7 separate regions of the Homo sapiens genome follow, and regions 1, 2, 4, 5, 6 and 7 are each linked to region 3. The links are contacts of gene promoters, found by promoter capture Hi-C in human tissues and cell types (Jung and others, 2019). All regions are on one chromosome and are shown on one strand. The core of a region is centred on a gene start or on the middle of the fragment in contact, and the rest is flanking DNA. Distances in the headings are between cores, read along the strand shown. Region 1 overlaps DIP2A (disco interacting protein 2 homolog A). Region 2 overlaps PCNT (pericentrin). Region 3 holds the start of COL6A1 (collagen type VI alpha 1 chain). Region 4 overlaps PCNT (pericentrin). Region 5 holds the start of LINC01694 (long intergenic non-protein coding RNA 1694). Region 6 has its middle 22 kb from the start of SLC19A1. Region 7 holds the start of DIP2A (disco interacting protein 2 homolog A).

What was found. The method cuts DNA at HindIII sites, captures the fragments that hold promoters and counts their contacts. A contact is called where the count stands out against the background at its distance.
Region 1: a contact is called between a fragment that was not itself captured here and the fragment with the promoter of COL6A1 in region 3, in 1 of the 25 tissues and cell types used here (lymphoblastoid cells).
Region 2: a contact is called between a fragment that was not itself captured here and the fragment with the promoter of COL6A1 in region 3, in 3 of the 25 tissues and cell types used here (H1 embryonic stem cells, lymphoblastoid cells and mesenchymal stem cells).
Region 4: a contact is called between a fragment that was not itself captured here and the fragment with the promoter of COL6A1 in region 3, in 1 of the 25 tissues and cell types used here (mesendoderm cells).
Region 5: a contact is called between a fragment that was not itself captured here and the fragment with the promoter of COL6A1 in region 3, in 2 of the 25 tissues and cell types used here (H1 embryonic stem cells and lymphoblastoid cells).
Region 6: a fragment that was not itself captured here is called in contact with the fragment with the promoter of COL6A1 in region 3 in 1 of the 25 tissues and cell types used here (IMR-90 fibroblasts).
Region 7: the fragment with the promoter of DIP2A here is called in contact with the fragment with the promoter of COL6A1 in region 3 in 2 of the 25 tissues and cell types used here (IMR-90 fibroblasts and lymphoblastoid cells).

The regions. Positions count from the first base shown.
Region 1 is chr21:46,477,590-46,481,024 of GRCh38, reverse strand. All of the region lies in intron 1 of DIP2A (disco interacting protein 2 homolog A), which reads right to left. Among named protein-coding and RNA genes, the nearest start is that of DIP2A-IT1, 17 kb to the right of the region's middle. The HindIII fragment of the contact is 3,471 bases long and covers 1-3,372 here.
Region 2 is chr21:46,347,353-46,350,376 of GRCh38, reverse strand. It overlaps PCNT (pericentrin), which reads right to left. Exons shown (of 47, transcript NM_006031.6): 6 at 2,865-2,920; 7 at 1,191-1,365; 8 at 557-693. Among named protein-coding and RNA genes, the nearest start is that of PCNT, 25 kb to the right of the region's middle. The HindIII fragment of the contact is 7,749 bases long and covers 1-3,024 here.
Region 3 is chr21:45,980,189-45,983,265 of GRCh38, reverse strand. COL6A1 (collagen type VI alpha 1 chain) reads right to left here and starts at 1,496. Exons shown (of 35, transcript NM_001848.3): 1 at 1,319-1,496; 2 at 503-632. The coding sequence starts at 1,415. It overlaps LOC105372841 (a long non-coding RNA gene), which reads right to left. Exons shown (of 3, transcript XR_937803.3): 3 at 1,700-1,976. RefSeq lists enhancers at 15-875, 876-1,738. The HindIII fragment of the contact is 42,283 bases long and covers 1-3,077 here.
Region 4 is chr21:46,438,836-46,441,896 of GRCh38, reverse strand. It overlaps PCNT (pericentrin), which reads right to left. Exons shown (of 47, transcript NM_006031.6): 42 at 1,695-1,814; 43 at 813-1,042. Among named protein-coding and RNA genes, the nearest start is that of DIP2A, 19 kb to the left of the region's middle. The HindIII fragment of the contact is 3,958 bases long and covers 1-3,061 here.
Region 5 is chr21:45,591,600-45,594,656 of GRCh38, reverse strand. It overlaps LINC01694 (long intergenic non-protein coding RNA 1694), which reads right to left and starts at 1,003. Exons shown (of 2, transcript NR_146912.1): 1 at 949-1,003. The region is part of intron 1 of LOC107985485 (a long non-coding RNA gene); the gene reads left to right. The HindIII fragment of the contact is 4,545 bases long and covers 1-3,057 here.
Region 6 is chr21:45,562,951-45,566,182 of GRCh38, reverse strand. It overlaps a transcript of SLC19A1 not described here. Among named protein-coding and RNA genes, the nearest start is that of SLC19A1, 22 kb to the right of the region's middle. The HindIII fragment of the contact is 6,356 bases long and covers 1-3,232 here.
Region 7 is chr21:46,457,040-46,460,141 of GRCh38, reverse strand. It overlaps DIP2A (disco interacting protein 2 homolog A), which reads right to left and starts at 1,251. Exons shown (of 38, transcript NM_015151.4): 1 at 920-1,251. The coding sequence starts at 1,010. LOC124905046 (a long non-coding RNA gene) reads left to right here and starts at 1,429. Exons shown (of 2, transcript XR_007067915.1): 1 at 1,429-1,815. RefSeq lists enhancers at 58-127, 1,898-2,037 and silencers at 848-917, 1,108-1,657. The HindIII fragment of the contact is 5,308 bases long and covers 1-2,271 here.

The sequences.
Region 1 (3,435 bases), core at 388-2,887, 500 kb before region 3:
TGCAGTGGCATAGCTTACTGCAGCCTCCAACTTCTGGGCTCAAGCAAATCAGCTTTCCGGAGTCTGAAAGGAGTGTCTGACAAAGAAGTACTTCAGGCAGTTAGCAGCTGGGTGACTCCACAATGGACCAAGTGTGGCTAAGGAAGAAGCACCCCAACAGGGCATGACACAATGGCTGGGAGCCCCAAGGGCCCGGCAGGTTCCAATCCAGTACAGTACAGTCTGCCTTTGGTCAGGTCACTTTTACCGCCTCCAAGGTGGGCACCAGCCAGAAATCAGATACACACCAGAGACCTTGGACCCAAGTGAGCTGGACACAGCTGCCAGTGTTTATTCCTTTGGAAAGGTATTGGCCTTTCCCTTGCTGCCAAAGAACGGGTCCAAAGAGTCCACTAGGTCCCAACTTGGGCCACACAAGCTTACCCAGGATCCCAAGGCAAGGTCTCTGTGCCATGGCAGCTGGGAAAGCCCACAGCTGCCACGACTAGACAGGTCCTACTGGAGGTGCCGACACAGAGCAGGAGGAAACAATAAAATGAGGGATGATCCACACCTGATATGGTCTGGCTCTGTGTCCTCCCCACTCAAATCTCACTTTGAATTGTAATAATCCCCACGTGTCATGGGAGGGACCCAGTGGGAGGTAACTGAATCACGGGGGCAGGTTTTTCCCCATGCTGTTCTCCGGATAGTAAGTCTCACAAGATCTGATGGTTTTATAAAAGGACAGTTCCCCTGCACACGCCCTCTTGCCTGCCACCACGTAGGACGTCCCTTTGCTTTCTTCATCTTCTGCCATGATTGTGAGGCCTCCCCAGCCATGTGGAACTGTGTGTCCATTAAACCTCTTTCCTTTATAAATTACCAAGTCTCGGTTACGTGTTTGTTAGCAGCATGAGAACAGACTAATACAATACCTGACCATAATAAAACTTGAAAACAGATGCCACACAAAAAAAAAAAAAAATACAGGCAGTCTCCAAGCTCGTGACACAGAACAAAAGGTGAGGAAAATCTGTGAAGAGTAATATTTTGCACGGTGGCACCATTCACTGGTAACAGTCGTTCTTAATATAAGCACGTAGAGATTTCACTTTCCAAGCCTTAAAGTTTCCAAACACAGGGGTCTTAAATATACAGATCTAATACACAAAAGTAGAGCCTATCTGACTGCAATTTAAATTATTTATGCAGCCAAGCATGGTGGCTCACATCTGTAATCCCAGCACTTTGGGAGGCCAAGGTGGGAGGACTGCTTGAGCCCAAGAGTTAGAAGCCACCTTGGGCAACATAAAGAGACCCTGTCTCTACAAAAAAAGAAAAAAAACCAATTAGCTGGCTGTGGTGGCACATGCCTATAGTCCTAAGCTACTAGGGAGGCTGAGGTGAGAAGATTGCTTGAGCCCAGGAGTTCGAGGCTGCGGTGAGCTATGATCGCACCACTGCACTCCAGCTTGAATAGCAGAATGAGACCTTAAAAAAAAATAAGCAAATTATTATGCTTAACGCTGAAGAGTATAGATATGCTTCCACAGCAGTGTTTGAATGTCCACTGTCTCATTCATTTGTAATTAAAAGCGGGCTTTTTAAATGTGTAGTAAATATTTTATCTCAGTTTTTAATAAAATATGAAAAATATGTTCATTAAACTGAATACATACACACACATAGGAACTCCATTTATGGCACTGACAAAATTATAGCACTCAGACCAACTCTTCCAATGGGAACAACTAAAAAGATCACATTAAAGTTTTTCTTTAAATCTGAAGACATTACAGAAGTGAAGAACTGAGGGCCAAGTGAAGTCAAAAAGTAATCACCAAGTAGCTGAACTGAGTGGAACTTGGACAGACTCAGAGAGGCAGGAGCTCATCACGGACGAGGTGCCCTGGAAAGCATCCCAGGTTGTTTGTTGGGACTCAGAAGGACCACACCTTGGGTATGAACTAAAAATAGAGCAGCACTCATAAGGACTGGAGCCAGTTTCAAATCACTTTCTCTCTATATAGATTAAAGTGATCTTGGACTGCATCTATTCCCAACCTATCTACCTACCAGATGCAAAAGTAAGCCCTTTGTGGTCACAAATGATCACTATATAGACAATGTCTGGCATTTGATCAGAAGTAATTAGGCACATATGGCAGCAAGAAACTATGACTAAAATCCATGAGAAACAATAATAGAAAGCTATAGAAAATGGAACTTTAGAATAACCATAATCAATATGTTTAGGGAATTAAAAAGCAGGATTGTGAATTTAAAAAAAAAAACATAAATTCTAGGACTGAAAAATACTGTATCTCAAATCCAGGAATAAATTTAATGAAAGGTGTGCAAGACCACTACCCAGAAACTAACAACATTATAAAAACATTACTGAGATAAATTAAAGACCTAAAGAAATGAAAGGATATACCACATTCATGAATCTGAAGACTCAATACTGTGAAGTGTAATTTCTCTCCAAGTGGATCACAAGAGTCAGCCTGAGTAATTCTTGAAAGTTTTGCCAGGCGTGGTGGCTCACGCCTGTAATCCCAGCACTTTGGGAGGCCGAGGCAGGCAGATCACCTGAGGTCCGGAGTTCGAGACCAGCCTGACCAACATGGAGAAACCCTATCTCTACTAAAAATACAAAATTAGCCAAGCATGGTGGCACATGCCTGTAATCCCAGCTACTCGGGAGGCTGAGGCAGGAGAATGGCTTGAACCCAGGAGGCGGAGGTTGCTGTGAGCCGGGATCGCGCCATTGCACTCCAGCCTGGGCAACAAGAGCGAAACTCCCTCTCAAAAAAAAAAAAAATTCTTGAAAGTTTCTTGCATAGAAATTGACAAGCTGATTCCAAAGTATATAGGGAAATACAAAGGGCCAAGATTAGCTAAATCAAGCTTGAAAAACAAAATAAAATTAAAAGGGCAGACTTTACCAGATATGAAGACAGAATGGAGCAGGTGCTAAGATAAGCAAGTAGAACAACACAGCAGAAATCAGTCCGAAGCAGCAGGGGAAGGATAGCCTCTTCCAAATGTTCTGAGTCAACTGATTACCCAACTGCAATAGAAATGAAATCACTCTTCCCTCACACCACGCATGAAATTAAATTCCAGGTGAATTACGCATCTAAATGTGAAAGATGGCCGGGCGTGGTGGCTCACGCCTGTATCCCAACACTTTGGGAGGCCAAGGCAGGTGGATCACCTGAGGTCAGGAATTCGTGACCAGCCTGGCCAACATGGCAAAACCCTGCCTCTACCAAAAAAAAAACAAAACAAAAAAATTAGCTGGGTGTGATGGTGCGTTCCTGTAATCCCAGCTACTCAGGAGGCTGAGGCAGGAGAATCACTTGAACCAGGGAGGCGGAGGTTGCAGTGAGCCGAGATAGTGGCACTGTACTCCAGCCTGGGCGACAGGACAAGACTCTGACTCAA
Region 2 (3,024 bases), core at 109-2,608, 370 kb before region 3:
GAGGATGTGGCCTTACACTCCTACCTAGTGTCTGCGATTTGTGTAACTGTCTCAGGGACGCCTGCAAAGAACATGCATTCCTAAGTACAAGATTGAACGTAATTATTAAATCAGTCTCAGAGACTATATCCTTACACTTTTATTCACCACTAACACTCTATTTATTTTTTTATTTCATTTTATTTTATTTATTTGCTTTTGAGACGGAGGCTCGCTGTTGCCCAGGATGGAGTGCAGTGGTGAGATCTCAGCTCACTGCAACCTCCACCTCCTAGGTTCAAGCGATTCTCGTGCCTCAGCCTCCCGAGTAGCTGGGATTACAGATGCCCACCACCATGCCTGGCTAATTTTTGTCTCAAACTCCTGAGCTCATGATCTGCCCACCTTGGCCTCCCAAAGTGATAGAGTTACAGGCGTGAACCACTGTTCCCAGCCAGTCTCTTTAAATTTAGAACTTAAGTTTTAGCAAATAACACAATACGAAATAGCCCAATTCCAAAATCTGTTAAAACTTCCCTAATATACCAAGTAATTAAATAACGAAGCTGCTGCCCACCTCCAGCTGTTTTTCTTTCTCGCTCTCTTTGAACTTGAACTCCAAGTCTTCTAAACACCGGCCGTGCTCGGACTGCAGGTCTTCACGTAACTTCTCAATGGCTGCTTGATGATGACTCTCCAGGTTCCTAAGGGCCCCTAGAAAGGTAAAGCAATGGCACTTGGTTTACAAGACATCACTCTCCTCAACAGCGACCTCAGTGACAATAATGGTGCACCCAGAGCGCTGCCACCCAGAGCCCCATCCTGGGCGCCCCCGGGCCCCTCGTTTGAGCCTCACATGCCTGATAGCACCAGGGGACATCGCCTACCCATGCCACCCACCATGAGGGTCAAGCTGGAACACACAACCCTGGAGTATGAAAAGTGAACAACCACAAAGCTGCTGCTTTGTAATAATTTAGCAACTGAACATGCCAAGAAAAATCTCTGAAACAAAGATCAGGAAGGTTTAAGGACCCTGAGAGACCTGTGACCCATGACGGCCACCAGCGTGTCACACGTGCATGGGGCCATCCAGCATTTAGAAGGTAGGAAACGTGCGCAATGACGCATGGTGACATGAACGACATTCCTTCCAGTACTACCTAGGAAAATTCAGTCCCACTCCAAACTTGCTCATTTTCATTACTTACGTTCAGCCTGGTTTTTGTCTTGAAAAATCTTCTCCAACTCAGCTCTCTGTTCTGCCAATTCTTTCTGAAACTGGTTTTGTAAATCCTCCATTTCTGATTGATGCTTTGCAGACAGTTCTTTGCGTAGATTTTCTAAACATAAATCTTTTTCAGATTCCCAATCTTCCTTCAGGGTCTAATTTAAAAGAAAAAAAAATTAAACTCAATAGTTGATTATCTGTGCTAAAGAAATTTAAATCACACAGTCAAAACCTCTGAGCAGGCCAGGCAACGTGGCTCATGCCTCTAATCCCAGCACTTTGAGAGGCTGAGGCAGGCAGATCGCCTGAGCCCAGGAGTTAGGGTTACAGACCAGCCCGGGCAACATAGTGAGACCCCATCTCTACAAAAAAAAAAATACAAAAATTAGTGGGATGTGGTGGCATGCAACTATAGTCCCAGCTACTCGGGAGGCTGAGGCAGGAGGATCAATTGAGCCCAGGAGGTCAAGACTGCAGTGAGCTGTGATTGTGCCACTGCACTCCAGCCTGGGAGGCAGAATGAGACCCTGTCTCAAAGAAAAAAAAGAATGGGCAGTCATGGCCCCCAACTAAACTGTCCTGACAGGCCTTACACCCAGTCTCTCCCCTGAATGCTGGCAGGACAGAAAAGCAGAAGCATCCAGGAGGCAAGCAGTTGAGGAAAAGTGAGCAAGGACCACCCACCACAAAACAGACTGCCATCTGCACACGAGGACCACCCACCCTGAAACAGACCAGCCTCTGCACAGGGACAACCCACCCTGAAACAGACCAGCCTCTGCACAGGGACCATCCACCCCAAAACAGACCTGCATCTGCACAAAGCGAGAGGACCACCTACCCTGAAACAGACCAGCCTCTGCACAAGGACCACCCACCCCGAAACAGACGAGCCTCTGCACGCAAGGCCTAATCCACACAGTCACCCTCAAAGCGTTAGTAATACATCTCCCTATAAGTCCCAGGGGCCAATGGCAACTTTGCCAACCTCCACCCAAGGGCTGGGCTCTGTCCCAAGTGTTCTGAGAAATGGGTCTCACTGCCTGCGTCAGAGGAGCAGGTGACCGGAACACAACCCCAAGCCTGGACTAACACCCATCGTCTGCCAAGGGCCTGAGAGCTGCCCAGATGCCTGACTCAGGAAGGGCCTCCACACTCAGCATGGCTGACAGCTCAGCCCTCTAGCGGAGGGCCTGGCAATGACGGGGCACTGCTACCTGTGGTCCCCAGTGAGGCCACCCACAGCAGGTGCAACCCACCCCACCCAAAACCTCCTCCCTGTGTGGTATTCTCCCCGGCACCCCAGCACCCACACCCCATGCACTGCAGGGAACTGCCACATCCACGAGGGCAGAGGCTGTGTCCCAGAACACAGCTCAGGGGCAGGCCATGGGGGCCACTCAGAAGACAGCATGGAGGGGCCGAGCAGTGCCTTTGTGTTATGCAAGTCAATGTGAAACAACAAAACAAGTTTTCTGACAAATACAAATGATATAAATAAACAAAGAACGCAATACACTTTCAACCAGCATATTCTAATAAAGCCTCGACTGGCTTCTGTCTGAATCAAGGTGAGGAGCGTTCTCATGGGACCTGGCGAGAAAGGAAAAACAACATACACAGAGGCGTGCATTTTAGAATCGATCCCGGGTACCTTTACTATCTGGGCGTTTTTCTCCATTTCTGATTGTAACTTCTCCTTCAGCTCAGCTGCAAGAAAAACAAAAAGCAGCTCAGGCCACTCCATCTCAACCTTTTCAGTGACCCAACTGCCCAGGAAACGACCAGGCTCTGGCACCCACTGGACACGTGCC
Region 3 (3,077 bases), core at 247-2,746:
GGGGCTGCAGAGCGACACCCCTCCTGGCTCCCGAGTCGGGGACCTTCAGAACGTGGGATCCAGGACCCAGGTAGAGGCTCTCACTGCCCACGGAACAAACCAGGGTCCAGGTGGTTAGTGAGGGGCTCCCGCGCACCAGGCAGGACTGCGTGTCTGGGCCAGTGCGCTGAGCCCTCTCGGTCAGCCTGCGGGAGCCTCTCTTCCCTACATCTCAGCCTCACTGTCACCTCGGCCCTGCTGAACAGGTGCCACCCCCGCGAGCAGGGTCTCAAACCAGCTCACTCTGGAAGGCGCTGGGAGAGGCTCAGACCAGCTCACTCTGGAGGGCGCCGGAAAGGGCCCCGGCCTCACTCTGGAGGGCGCCGGGAGGGGCCCCGGTCAGGGCAACGCTCGCCCAACCTTAGGAGGTTGAGGCCGTCGCACCCGTGTTCCCCTGGGCCCCCACCCCTCCCTCCAAGAGGCCCAGAAGCACAGGAGGAAGGTCACGGGGCGTCCCTCCTACCTGTCCCTCAGGTTGTCGATGAAGCGCTTGGTGAAGGACTTGACTTTGTCCACGAGGGCCCCGTAGGGCTTCAGCCTCAGGGCCACGCTCTCAGAGGTGTCCAGCACAAAGAACAGGTCCACGGGGCAGTCTGGCCGAAGATGGAGGAGAGGGGCCTTCAAGCTCTCGCCCCATTCCCCGAGTCTCTGCTGGGCCTGCCCTCCCGGCCAGCCCAGCGCCTGCAGCACAGAGCCCCGGGCCCGGAGAGGCTCTCCCGGGAAAAGGCAGCAGGACGTCCCTCGGTGGGGACGGTGGGGAGGGGGTGGAGTGAGAGACCCCAAACCGCTCCTGTGCCTCGAGGGGAGTCAGAAACCTTCACAACCTCCCCCGAAGGGCAGGGCGTCCCCGGCACGGGACCGGACAAGTGAGACCTCACGGGAAGGTTTCTCGCTGGATTCAGAACCAGCAGCGCACGACTTCTTCTAGAACGGGGGTCGGGGGGGCCGTGCGTCTGGACTCACTGCCAGGTGAGGGGTCAAACGGATTCACGGGGCGCCGAGACAGCCCCGCACCAGCTCCCCCTCGCCAGGGAGCCCCTCCCGAGCTGCCTGCGGTCCGGCCCCGCTGAGAATGCTGAATGCTGAGCCTCTAGGGGCCCCGGCCAAGGCCCGGTGGGGCAGAGCTGGGCGCTGCAGCCGCCCCGAGCGGGGAGTGGGGTTCAGGGGCTCCAGGCCCCCAGTCTGCAGTTCCACGCGTGGGAGGGGACCCCGCGCATCTGGCCCTGGCCGGCAGCAAAGAGCGGGGGGTCTGGAGCCTGCACCCCAAGCCACCACTCACCCTGGAAGGCCACGGCCCTCGGGGTCTCCGGCTCATCCTGCGCGGCTGTCCAGCAGGCCTGCAGCAGCAGGGGCAGCAGAGCACGGGCCGCCCTCATGTCTGGGGCCTGCGGTCACCACACAGCGCGGCCAGGGCAGAGTGGGCCGCCGCCGCCGCCCAGAGACCGAGGCTGCCTTCTGCTCCCAGCCAGAGTGAGAGCGGAGGGCAAGGAGGGGAGGGGCGGGGCGAGAGGGGCGGGAGGGGAGGGGAGGGGCGGGAGGGGAGGGGAGGGGCGGGGCGGGAGGAGAGGGGAGGGGAGGGGAGGGGCGGGAGGAGAGGGGAGGGGCGGGAGGGGAGGGGCGGGGCGGGAGGGGAGGGGCGGGGCGGGGCGGGGAGGAGCGGCCCATGAGTCACCACCTCCTTGCTGGGGTCTCTCCCTCCAGAACCGGCAGCAGCTCCGAGCCCAGGGAGAAGGCGGTTTCCCTGGCTGGCTCGCCGCGGCCTGCAGTTCAGTTCCCGTGTCAGGGAGGAGGAAACTGCAGCAGCTGAATCAAACGTCTGAAAACCAGCGTGTCACCCAGGGAGAGTTCCTTGAAACATCTTTCGGTAGTTTCCAATCCAGACGTCTCCATGCGGGACGCACGGGCAGGCTCACTCGCCTCTTCCCACCAACCGCCTCCTGCAGAGGACCTCGCCGTGAGCTGAATTGTTGCTTTATCAGATCTCCGCGTTCTTTTTTCACGTCAATATTTCTTCACAGTATAGTCGGATACGTATTTGCCAAAGATATTTCAGTTTGTACCGTGGGAAGACAAAGTTGCTCACAATATAGTTGTTATATATGCTGTGTGTGGAGACAGAGAGACAGAGACAGAGAGACAGAGAGAGACAGTGAGAGAGAGACAGAGAGACAGAGACAGAGAGACAGACAGAGACACAGACAGAGGAGAGACAGAGACAGAGAGAGAGACAGAGACAGAGAGAGACAGAGAGACAGAAAGACAGAGAGAGACACAGAGAGACAGAGGAGAGACAGAGACAGAGAGACAGAGACAGAGAGACACAGAGAGACAGAGAGACAGAGAGACAGAGACAGAGAGAGAGACAGTGAGAGACAGAGACAGAGAGACACAGAGACAGAGAGACAGAGAGAGACAGAGACAGTGAGAGAGAGACAGAAAGACAGAGACAGAGAGACAGACACAGAGAGACAGAGGAGAGACAGAGACAGACAGAGAGAGACAGAGACAGAGAGAGACAGAGAGACAGACAGAGAGAGACAGAGAGAGAGACAGAGACAGAGACACAGAGAGAGGAGAGACAGAGAGAGACAAAGACAGAGACAGAGAGACAGAGACAGAGAGAGACAGAGAGGAGAGACAGACAGAGACGGAGAGACAGAGACAGAGAGACAGAGACAGAGAGACAGAAAGAGAGACAGAGAGAGGAGAGAGGGGCTGTCCCTGATATCACCTGGGGGTGGGCTCCAGATGTGGCCAGATGCATCCCTGGCCCACAGAAGGTCCCAGAAGAGCTTTCCCAAAGCTGGAGCTGCTGAGACTTGCCTAACACCAGCCTAAATGTCTTATAATTTTAAAACGTACACAAATTGTTCATACCAAAAACCATGTTAAAGAAACATTTGAAAAAACCTTTAAAATTGATACTTAATTCCACAACTCCACAGTGACTGTTTTTGGATTGCCTTCAATATTTTCCCCACACCTACGTTACAGAAGTTGTAAAGTACTTCTCCTTCTTTTCCTCCTCCTCCTCCTCC
Region 4 (3,061 bases), core at 503-3,002, 460 kb before region 3:
AAGACCTGTCAAGGCCCCTTGGTGGCAGCTACCCTAGGCAGTGCCCTCACAGGGACACAGAGACTGCTCCTTTCTGGGACACCACTGCCTTCAAAAGATCTCCCCTCCTCGACAGGAGGTAGGATCTGGGTCTGCTTACCTCCCCTATCTAGTGCCTAAAATGCTTCCTCCTGCAGGGTGTTCTCCCCATGAACACAGGATGGACAGATGGGTGGGTGGAAGGATGGACGGTGGAGGCCTACGGTCAGGGGAGCTCAGAGACGAGGAGACAAAGTGCCCCAGGACCAGAGAAGCTGAGAGTACAGCAACCCAGGAGGCCTCGCCTGCACCCCACTTTGGCCCAGCCTGCAGCCGCGATGACTGAACTGGCTCGGCACCTGGTCTCTGAAAGGAGCGGGATTCCTAGCTGCTCTCTGCTGCATCTGCTACTCCAGACAGGCCCGCGCGTGGCCTTGGGAAACACCTCTGTGGCATCAGGGAGCAGGCACAGCCGCACAGTGTTTAGGGGGAAAAACAGTTTTAGAAATTCAGCACGTTCTTTGTGGCACGAAACCCATTAAAAGTCAAGATGTTCCTCTGTAATACAAAGGTGCCCTTAAATCTTTAGTTTTAGAAGGTGAGAGATTCATACACATGACTTCTTGAAGACAAGTTCATCATCTGTATTTTCTCTAAGGCCTCAAATGCCATTCATCTTTAAAAAGAACATATTATGGAGTTTCAAGGAATAAAATGACCAAAAAACCATGCAGTGTGCTGCCCACTCACGGAGACAGACGCGGAACGCACTGACTGAACGTCATGGCATTTACCTTAATATTGCAATGACCACCCTGACGGCCGTGCGGAACCTGGTGAAAGGACGAGATGTGATTTTCCGTTCTGCTTTGGAAGGAAATACCCCCAAATGGGCAATCATGGAGAGTGTTTCTTGTTCAGAATCCTGGAATCCACCAATCAACAGCAAAAGATACTTCTTTTGATAAATCAGAGCTTTTCTAAAGCTCTCTGCTCTCAAGTAATGCAGGTACAATTTTTCCATCTAAAAGAAAAAAAGCAGTAAAATTTTATCATAGGAAACAAAGACTGTCTTGCTGACAAAAGCACATTAACACCATTGCTCTTTCCAAAGAGTCAGATTGTTTTTTCCCATCAAATCATCACAGAGCCATCGGCCTTCCAACAGTATCTGTGGCCAGAAACAACCTTGCTGTTGGAAGATCAATTTGTGTTTGTCAGACAAGATCTAGGACCACAAGCTCCTCTCCACAGCATCATCAAATGAGCCCCTATGAAGCTTCTTGCATTTCACCCCTTAGGTAAGGTCCAAACTGGGCATGAGATGGACGTCACGGGGTGGGGACCGTGTGCCATCAGGAGACTGCAGCAGATCTTGGGCCGAATCCCGGCAAGCCCCTGGGCCAGGCCTCCCTCAGGCTGCAGAGGCCGCCATTTGCTGACTTTGTCAAAGCCTTCCACGTTCCACGCTTAACAAGCACAGAAACTCAGTATTTGTGCACAATTAAAACAAAATTCAAGCCGAAGTTTATTCTGTGAACGTCCTTTCCTTTAGTGATGTGACTGCTACACCCGGCAGACGAGAACCTTGTGGTCACAAAAATGCTTTGCCTGCAATTTGCAAACCCAGGACTTAAAAAAGCACCAAAGTTCTATACTCGTGGCACCGTTCCTACCTTGACATTGCTGGTGTGTGCTTCCTCGCTGGCAGCTGGTGGAAGCCGGCCGGGGTCTGGGCGCCTCAGGGAACTCTGTGGAGCCGTTTCGTCTGGCTTCCAAGCAGACCTTTCCGACCTCTGTAAGGAAGCACAGCCAGCGCTGTCTACAGAGCTGCTCGTCAACAAGAGCATCTTAGAGACGCAGCCGGGGGCAGGTGAGGGAGAAGGCCATGTGCGGGGAGGCCAGGCTGACCACACCACACCTGGCCCCTCCTCAACTTCAGCACCCCCTCAGCAGGGCCTAGGTTACGCCGTGCTGTGATCAGCCAAAGAATTAACATGGAGTAATTACGACATGCCACTTGCTGAAGTATGATTGCAAAAAAGGTACATTTTAACAGAAACAGAAAACCAATTCTTTGTAAAATCACCCCAAATTCAAAGCTTTAAGCCTTAAACACTCTCATATTCTCCGGTCCTAGAAATGCCAACCACTGGTAACTACAAGCACAGTCAACTCTCGACAGCTGTGGGTTCCACATCCATGGATTCAACCAACTGTGGGTGAAAAATATTCAGAAAAAACGATGTGTCTGTACCAAACGTGTGCTTCTTTTCTTGCCCCTACACCCTAAACAATACAGGATGACAACTATTTACGTGGCATTTACACTGAATGAGGTGCTGCAAGTGATCTTAGAGATGACTTAAGAGTGTACGGGAGGACGTGCACAGGTTGCTGCTGACACCACTGCAGGTCAGGAGGCTGAGGCAGGAGGATCCCTGAACCTGGGAGGTCAAGGCTGAAGTGAGCTGTGACTGCTCCACTGCACTCCAGCCTGGGAGATGCAGCAAGGCCCTGTCTCAGAAAAAAAACCCAAAAAGTGAAAAAAGCCAGTTTAGGAGGTCCCAGACGGGCTGGTTCCACTGACACACCTTTCTGGGAGAGAGCCAGGGCCTGTGGCAGGCGGAGATGCCTGCTGCTCTTTTTGGGGGGGCCATCGCTGTGTGCTCTGTGAATGGTGGTTACTTATGAAGGTTACAGGGATGTGTGTGTGTGTGAACTTGTATGACACTACACCAGGAAAGGGCAAATTTTACTGTATGTAAATTTAAAAATAATTTTTAAAAAGTTATAAAAAATAAAGCAAATCACAAACAAAATAGCCTAAATACAAAAGAAAAAAAAATGAGACATTCCGGAAGATAACTCTATCCAACTATACCATTATGAAAATTATAAGTCACTTTAGGCCGGGCACGGTGGCTCATGTCTGTAATCCCAGCACTTTGGGAGGCTGAGGTGGGCGGAATCACGTCAGGATTTTGAGACCAGCCTGGCCAACATGGCAAAACCCCATCTCTACTAAAAATATAAAAATTAG
Region 5 (3,057 bases), core at 264-2,763, 390 kb after region 3:
ACTTGAGCCCAGGAGTTTGAGACCAGCCTGGGCAACACAGCAAGACGCTGTCTCTACCAAAAATTTTAAAAAATTAGACTGCATGGTTGTGTATGCCTGTAGTACTGGCTACTGGGGAGGCTGAGGTGGGAGGATTGGTAGAGCCTGGGAGTTGGAGACTGCAGTGACCTGTGACGGTGCCACTGCACTCCAGCCTGGGTGACAGAGCAAGACCCGAAAAAATGAAAAAGAAAATAATAACAATAGTGATTTCCAGAGTTTGACATGCAAGTAGAGTTAAAATACATAAGAACAACAGAACAAAGGGTGGGATGGAATAAAGGGGTGATGTAAATCTTTGGTGGTCTGGTAAGAGATAGCAGGAAGAATTTACACTGGACTTTAACATGGATAACTACTGAATGAACAGTAATTCATAACTGGCAGGCTAAGAGAGGATAAACATGGAATAAAAAATAATCGAAGCCACGAGGAGAAGAAGGAACAGGGAACAAGTAGGAAAAACAGAAAACAATTCATAATGCCAGAATTCAAACGCAGATAATGGAATCAAAACAAAAGAACCAGAAAGTTCAATTCAAAGATAAAGATACACTGGATCCTGCAGGAGACACACCCTCAATGTAAGGCCACAGAAAGATAAATGGAAAGGGAGGTCTGGAAAGCTGGGGTGGCTGCATTAACACCAAGCAGAGGAACCACGGGCAAGGAGCTCAGCAGACCAGGGTCAGCTGGTGGCATGGGGCCCAGCCCACGGGAAGATGCCAGCCTCAAACTACAGAAAACAAAGTTGCAGAGTCCAAGAAAGAAGAAGAGAAATCCACAATCATATAGAAAAATTTAAAACATCTCCTGGTCACCAATAAAGCATGTGTATTAGTCCCTTTTCATGCCGCTGACAAAGACATACCCGAGATTGGGAAGAAAAAAAGGTTTAATTGGACTTACAGTTCCACATGGCTGGGGAGGCCTCAGAATCATGGCGGCAGCAAGAGAAAATGAGGAAGAAGCAAAAGCAGAAACCCCTGATAGGCCCATCAGATCTCGTGAGATTTATTCACTCTGGCGAGAATAGCACAGGAAAGACCGGTCCCCGTGATTCAATTACCTCCCCCTGGGTCCCTCCCACAACACGTGGGAATTCTGGGAGATACAATTCAAGTTGGGATTTAGGTGGGGACACAGCCAAACCATATCAGCATGCAAGGAAAATACTAGCAAGAGTACGCAGTATTTGAATCAATCACCTCACTGATGTTTAAATCACTGCACGTGACAGGCGCATCCCAGGGCAGAGCAGCCGCCAGTGCTGAAATGACGGGGCCATGGGGTGATGGGACCGTGGGGCGACGGGGCTGTGGGGCGACGAGGCCGTGGGGCGACGGGGCCGTGGGGTGATGGGGCCGTGGAGTGATGGCGCCATGGGGCTTCTTGGGGGTACACCCTATGTAACTGGAGAGGATGAAGTGAAGTTACAAAGTCATTTACTTGGCCCATGCCCTATGGAGAGGATATTTCCTGTGGTAGCTGAAGTGTGAACTGCCTTATGCTCCCTGCCTCCAGACCCAATTTTCCTGCCTCAACAGGCGCAGGTTTCCCTGTCAGCCCGCTCTGCACTCCTGCACTCCTATCTGATCACCGGGTGTTATCTTTAAATCACTGTCAGATTTGTGTAGTGATTTCTGTAAGTTTAGATTTTTGCACCCTTGTTCCCAAGCAAAATTGGCTGATGATTTTCTTGTGCTGTTGACGGGGCCCCCGTTTGACCTCATCCAGACCCTATGGACGGGTGGCCATAGGCGGGCCACGGTTGACTGACGGAAATGTGGACGCATTGTTTTCCTCTATTTCAAGCACTGTCATCGTGAACATCCTTGTGCATGTGTGTGTTGTATGTCCACCTGGTGTATTGTGTGTGTGTTACCGAGAATTCTGTGTTCGGATGGATTTTTTAACCGACAAGATCCACAGAGCCAGAGCTCTGAACCAGCAATCTGGGTTCTTGTGACAGTGAGCAAAGAACTGCAAACACCAAAATGTAAGCTTAAAACAAGGTTGATTGAAATTTCCAGTAATACTGTCTCAGAGGGTGTGCAGGCTGATTTCTGAGAAGTGACATCAGCACCTGGTTACAGAGCTCAAGGTGCTTCTGTGGGGTGTGAGAAGTAGCTGAGGTTTGGGCTGAGTGACAGGCTGATGTCATTTGGCAGCTTATGGTGACACAGCTAAAATTAAACTGTGCATATTTTTACCCATAATTCATTAAGAAAAGCCCAGTGTGGGGGGGCCACATGTAAATGTTATTACAGTTTTAGGTCACTGGGCACATGCTGCTCTAGGGATTTCTACCTGTGCCCTGGTTTCCCCTTCCACAGGACATGCTGGCCACAGGTTTCACTTCAAACTCCGTCCCTCATGGTGGAGTTAGGGCGGGCTCGGGGCTGAACTTAGGTGGGCCAGGGGCTTAATGACAGCTTCTCTGTTCTCCTTTTTACCCTCTCCCAGCTGCTGATGTGTGTCTAACTACCTAACACGTCTATGTGGTGTGTTTTTTTGTGTGTGGGTGGTGTGCATGGTATGTGTGTCTATGTGGAGTGTTTTGTGTGTGTGGTTTGTGTGTGATTTGTGTGTCGACATGGAGTGTTTTGTGTGTGTGTGGTGTGCGTGGTGTGTGTGCCTATGTGGCATGTTGTGTGTGTGTGGTTTGTGCGTGAGTTGTGTGTCGATGTGGAGTGTTTTGTGTGTGTGGTGTGCGTGTTGTGTGTGTCTATGTGGCCTGTTGTGTGTGTGGCTGGTGCGTGATTTGTGCATATGGTGTGTTGTGTGTATGTATGTGTGCGTGGTTTGTGTGTCTATGTGGAGTGTGGGTGTGGTATGCATGGTGTGTATGTGGTGTGTTGTGGGTATGTATGCGTGTGTGTGGTTTGTGCATAGTGTGCATGGTTTGTGTGTCTATGAGGTGTGTGTGTGTGGTTTGTGTGTGGTGTATCTATGTGGCATCTTGTATGTGTGTGGTGTGTGTCTCTATGTGATGTGTTTTGTGTGTGTGGTGTGATG
Region 6 (3,232 bases), core at 711-3,210, 420 kb after region 3:
TTTTGAGACGGAGTCTCGCTCTGTCACCCAGGCTGGAGTGCAGTGGTGCGATCTTGGCTCACTGCAAGCTCCACCTCCCGGGTTCATGCCATTCTCCTGCCTCAGCCTCCCCAGTAGCTGGGACTACAGGTGCCCACCACACGCCCGGCTAATTTTTTTTGTATTTTTTTAGGAGAGACGGGGTTTCACCATGTTAGCCAGGATGGTCTTGATCTCCTGACCTCGTGATCCACCCAACTCAGCCTCCCAAAGTGCTGAGATTACAGGCATGAGCCACCGCACCCGGCCGGGAATTGTTTTATGACCCAGAATACGGCCTATTTTGGTAAATTGTTTGTGTACAGATGAAAAGAATGTGTATTCTCCTGTTGCTGGGTGACATATTTGATAAATATTAATTTGGCTGATAGTATCCTTCAAGTCTTGTCTGCCTTTACTAAGTTGTCTATCAATTTGTTCTATCAGTTATTGAAATGAGGTGTTGAACTCTCTGACTGTAATTGTTGGTTTGTGTACTTCTCCTTACATTCTAGCTGTTTCTGCTTCATGTATTTTGAAGCTTTATTAGGTGCGTACATGGTTAGGGTTGTTAAGATCTCTTGATGAACTAATCCCTTTATTATTATAAAAAATCCTCTTTATTTCTTACAATGTTACTTATCTGATATCTACTTTGATATTGTAATAGCCACTCTGGCCATCTTTTGAATAGTGCGATGGTATATATTTTTCCATCTTTTGATTTTAAGCCAATTTTATATATTTATATTTAAAGTGTTTTTCCCTGTCAGCAACATAAAGTTGAGTCTGGCTTTCTTATCTAATCATATAATCTCTGCCCCAGTTGAATTGTTTGGGCAATTAGAACATGACTGTGATTATTAATATGATTGGGTTTAAATCTATTATCTTACTTTTCTTCTTATATTTGTTCCATCTGTTATTTTTTCTTTTTTCTGCCTTCTTTTGCATTGTGTTTTTAATTCCATTTATCTTCTTTGTTGGCTTATTAGCTATAATTCTTGTTTTTTCTTTTATTTGTAGCTTTAAGATAAATAGTATGTATCTTTAACTTACGCAGTAATGTGATATTAAAATAGCATCTTTCCATCCCCTCTCACACCTTTTTTGCTGTTGTCAAACATTTTTAAAACTCACACGTTTTTAAACCTCACACTTTTTTTTTTTTTGAGACAGGGTCTTTCTTACTCTGTCATCCAGGCTGGATTGTGGAGTGCAATGGCACGATCATGGCTCACTGCCACCCTGACCTCTCGGGCACAGGAGGTCCTCCCACCTCAACCTCCCGAGTAGCAGGAACTATGGCATGTGCCACCATGCCCGGCTAATTGTTTGTATTTTTTGTAGAGATGGGGTTTTGCTACATTGCTCAGGCTGGTCTTAAACTCCTGAGCTCAAGCAATCCGCCCGTCTCGGCCTCCCAAAGTGCTGGGATTACAGGTGTGAGCCACCGTACCTGGCCAACCTCACACATTTTTAAACCTCACAATACATCATTAGGTTTTTTCTTTTCGTTTTAAGCAGTTGGTTATCTTTTAAGGATATTTTAAAAGTAAGTTTTTAATATTCGTCCACATATTTTCCATTTCCAATACTTTTTATTCCTTTGTCCAGCTTCAGATTGTCCTTCTGTCCGACGACTGCCTTTAACATGTCATATGACATTTGTCTACTGTTGATGAAATCTTTCAGTCTTTGGATTCCTAAAAAAGTCTATTTCACCTCCATTTTTAAAAGATGCTTTTCTCGGGTATAGAATTCTAACACTTTTTAAAAATCTGTTGGTACTTTCGGCCGGGCGCAGTGGCTCATGCCTGTAATCCCAGCACGTTGGGAGGCTGAGGCGGGTGGATCACAAAGTCAAGAGATTGAGACCATCTTAGCCAACATGGTGAAACCCCATCTCTACTAAAAATACAAAAGTTAGCCAGGCGTGGTGGAGCATGCCTGTAGACTCAGCTACTCAGGAGGCTGAGGCAAGAGAATTGCTTGAACCTGGGAGGCGGAGGTTGCAGTGACCCGAGATCGCACCACTGCACTCCAGCCTGGCAACAGAGTAAGACTCCGTCTCAAAAAAAAAAAAAAAAAAGAAAAAAGAAAAAAAGAAAAAGAATCTGTTGGCACTTTAAAGAGGTTGCTCCATGGTCTTCTCACTTGCATTGTTTCCAATCAGAAATCCATCCTTATCCTTATCTTCATTCCTCTGTATGTGAAGTTTTCCCTCCCTCTAGTTGGTTTTAAGAAATTTCTCTTTAACACAAGTTTTGAGCAGTTAGATTATAATGTGACTTGGTGTTGTTTTCTTAATATTTCTTGTGCTTGGGGTTTACTGAGATTCTTGGATTTGTGGGTTTACCTTGTTCAAATCCTTGTTTTACAACTTAAAGTGCCTTAATATTACACACGCATTAGGGCACTTTAAGTTGTCCTGTAGCTCACTGATGCTCTGTCCATTTTTTAAGTATTTTTTTCTGTGTGTTTTATTTTGTACAGTCTCTATTGCTGTTGCTGTGTCTTCAGGTTCACGCATCTGTTCTTCTTCAATGTCTAATCTGCGGGGATCCCATCCAGTGTACTTTTCACCTCAGACGTTGTAGTTTTCATCTCTAGAAGTTTGATTTGTGTTTTTTTTTTTAAATCTTCAATGTGTCTCCTCCTAATACTCACTCTTTTCTTTACCATTTTGAACATAAAAATATAGTTACAATAATTGTTTTAATGTCCTTTTCTGCTAAATCTACCTTCTTTGTCATTTCTAGATCTGTTTCTATGGATTAATTTATATCCTCATTTTGGGTTACGTTTTCTTTTTCTTTTTTGCATGCCCACTAATTTTTGATTGCATGCCAGATATTCTGAGTTTACTTTGTTAAATAATTGACATTTTTGTCTTCCTACAAATATTCTTGAGCTTTGTTCTGGAATGCAATTAAGTTACATGGAAACAGTTTGTTTCTCCCGAGGCTTGCTTTGAACGTTTCAGGCAAGGTCAGAACAGTTTTTAGCCTAGAACGAGTTTATCTCCCCTACTGTGGCAAAGCCTTCTGAGTGCTCCACTCCACGTCCCATGGGCCATGAGATCTCTGCTCTGACTGGCGGAACAGGCAACATTCCTGCCTGTGCATGAGCTCTAAGGGTCACTTCTGCTTCTCTTTCTGATGGTCTTTCCCTGGCCTTGAGTATTTGCCTCTCACACCTGCACAGATCCGTA
Region 7 (3,102 bases), core at 2-2,501, 480 kb before region 3:
TATATTAAGGTATTTTAGCCTCATAACAATCCAAAATGGAAAGTGCTGGTATAACCCCACTTTATAGATAATAAAATGAGGCACAGGGTGCAGCTCCTAGAGTATGAGGCGCGCGGCAAGGGCTCCCAGCTCCAAGGGAAGTAGCTGCCTGCGGACAACGGGCGCAGTCATCCTGGTGAAGCCCAGACCAAGCCCAGACCTACAGCCTTGAGAAAAGCGGGGCTCACAGCTTGGGGCAAAAGTGGTCATTCCTCTCAAGATTCTCACACCTGTCCAAACGACCTAGTCAAAGCCAGTCCTTGGGGTCGGATCCCATTGGGGGAGCAGCTGGGGATAGGGAAAGGTCTCCAGAAGTTTGGCAGGCGTCCCGGGGTGAGGAGTAAGGGTCCCAGGTGTGAAGGGCCTGGGGGGAGGAGTCCTTGTATGGGGGAGGGGTCCTTGTATGAGAGGCGGGGCAGTGGTCCCTGGTTTGAGGGGCCGCGCGGGTGTCCCGGGGCTGAGGGTCGGGAGTCCGGAGGGGCAGCGCGGGGCTCCCAGGGTGAAGGGCGGGGTCCCCGGGGTGAGGGGCCGCGCGGGGTTCCGGGGGTGAGGGGCAGGAGGTCCCGGGGGTGAGGGGCGGGAGTTCCCGGGGGTAAGGGGCCGGGGTCTCGGGGCGAGGGGTCGTGCTGGGGTCCCACATGAGGGGCGGGGTCCTAGGGTTGAGGAACGGTGTCTCCGGGGCGAGGGGCGGGTTCCAGGGTAGAGGAACCGGGGTCCCGTTGAGGGGCAGAGGTCCCAGGGGCGAGGCCGCGTGGGGGTCCCGGGGGTGAAGGGCGGGGGTCCTGGAGTGAGGGGCCGCGCGGGGGTCCCGGAGTGAGGGGCTGCGCGGGGGACCGGGCTGAGGGCGGGTCGCGGGGGTTGAGGGCGGGGTCCGGCTCACCTTCCGACAGCTCCAGCTCCAGCTCAGCCAGGCTCTCCCGCACCTCGGCAGGCAGCGGCGCCGCCTCCAGCGGGCACCCGCGGTCAGCCATGGCCAGGCCGGCTAGCGTCCGGGCAGAGGCTGGAACCGGACCGGGCCTGGCGGCGGCAGCGCAAACCTCGGCTACGTAGCTCCCCTCAGGCCAACAACCTACATCCGCCAGGCGAGGAGCGGGAGGCGGCGGGACAGGGGCGCGGCCAGGACAGCAACGCACCCGCGCGGGCACGAGCGCGGATGGCTCCGCCGCGCCGCCGCTGCCCCGCGCGCTCCTGAGCGCCCGGCCGGCCCTACACGGGAGCGCGTGCGCGGCGGGAAGGGCGGGTAGCGAGCGCGCGTGCGCAGTGGGTCTCGGGCCCGCGCAGCCCTCCCGGCCCCGCCCAGCAACACCAGAGCCTCGCTTCCATTGGCCCCGAAGACGCGTCGATGCCGCTCCGGGCTCCCATTGGGAGAGGCGGGAGAGCGCCGCTCCCGACAGGCTCTGCGCTGGGCCTGCTTGAGGGTGGCGGGCTTGAGGCGGGCAGGCTGCTTAGTTGCGGCCCGAGGCGCCTAAGTGGGGATGACCAACCCGTGGGCGTTGGCGCTGACCCCTAGGCGCCGCTGGTGGCCCCGCGCGCGGCCCTCCGGCCAGCCCCGCCCCTCTCGGGGCTCCTCCTTGGTCCCCGCGCCATGGCGCGTCCGCGTTGACCGCTGTCTTCCCTTTCGGGCTGTGCTGATCGCGAACGCTGCGCAGTCCGTGGTGGCGTCGAGGCACCTTTCTCGTGCCTTTACCTGTGTTCACTCCTTTGCTTTAAAAAACAGCCCTAGAAGTACACATCGTTGGCCCCGAAGGAGCCCCAGCAGCCATGTCGGACCGCGAGGTGACCTTGGAGGGCGGGAGGACGGACGAGGGGCCTGGCGGAGCTAGACTGAGAGGGCGCCGCCGGCGTCCTGAAGGCCCTGCTCCCCGAATGTGTGGGAGTGTGTCTGACGGTGCGAGGGTGGCTGTGGCGGGGCCTGAGCAGCGTGTCCGTGTCCCGATGCCGCCCGCCTGTTACTGAGTTAGGCAGGAGTGCCCGAGTCTGGCGAACTTCAGCAGTTCTCGTTCCAGAGCTCCACACGAGGTTGGCCAAAGCTTTGCGGGACTTACATACCCTTCTTCCTCCGCCCAGTCCTGCTTCCTTCCCCTTCCTTTCACGGGTGTTGATACCATGTCAACATCCTCGTACCCCAAACTCAGTCGCAGCGTCTGCTTCTGGAGAAACCATTCTGCAGCATTAAAGCTGGTGAGAAGATGGGATTCGAGGCTGCATCACTCACCAGTGGTGAAGTAGGAGGGTGAACTAGTGAAATGGAATCCACGAGTGGGTGAAGTATCAGACATTTCATATATGGTGAACGTAGTAGATAAAAGGAAGGAAAGGGGGATTGGATAGCTATTGCTTAGTGCCAACCGAGACTCTTAAGAATAGTGGTCAGCTGAAGGCAAGCAACAAACAGTTGTAAGCCAGTGAATCTGTCCCGTTACATATAGAGAAGCTTCATTTACTGCAGCAGGTCAAAGACAAGAACCAGGCCCAGGAATTAACATCCCTGTTTGACTGAACTCCAAAAATAGCAAAACACCCAAACAAGGCAATACTCTTCCACTAAGTTTGGATCCCTGCTAAGAAAAGATGAGGCTGGGCACAGTGGCTCACACCTGTAATCCCAGCACTTTGGGAGGCCAAGGCGGGAAGATTGCTTGAGTTCAGGAGTTCAAGACCAGCTTGGGCAACATGACAAAACCCCATCTCTACTGAAAACACAAAAAATTAGCCGGGCATGGTGGCCACGGCTGTGGTCCCAGCTGCTTGGGAGGCTAAGGTGGGTGGATCACCTGAGCCCTGGAAGTCAGGGCTGTAGTGAGCTGTGACTGCACTCCAGCCTGGGCAACAGGAGTGAGACTCTGTCTTTTAAAAAAAAAAAAGAAAGAAAAGAAAAGCCCGTCATACATGGGTTGGAGATACCTGGGTAGATGCCTTCAAAGGTTTTGACTCCCCAAACTGCCTTAAACCTTTTTTTCGTAGACAGTGTCTCACTCTGTTGCCCAGGCTGGAGTGCAGTTGCTGGATCATGGCCCACTGTAGCCTCAACTTCCTGGGCTCAAACGATCCTCCCACCTGAGC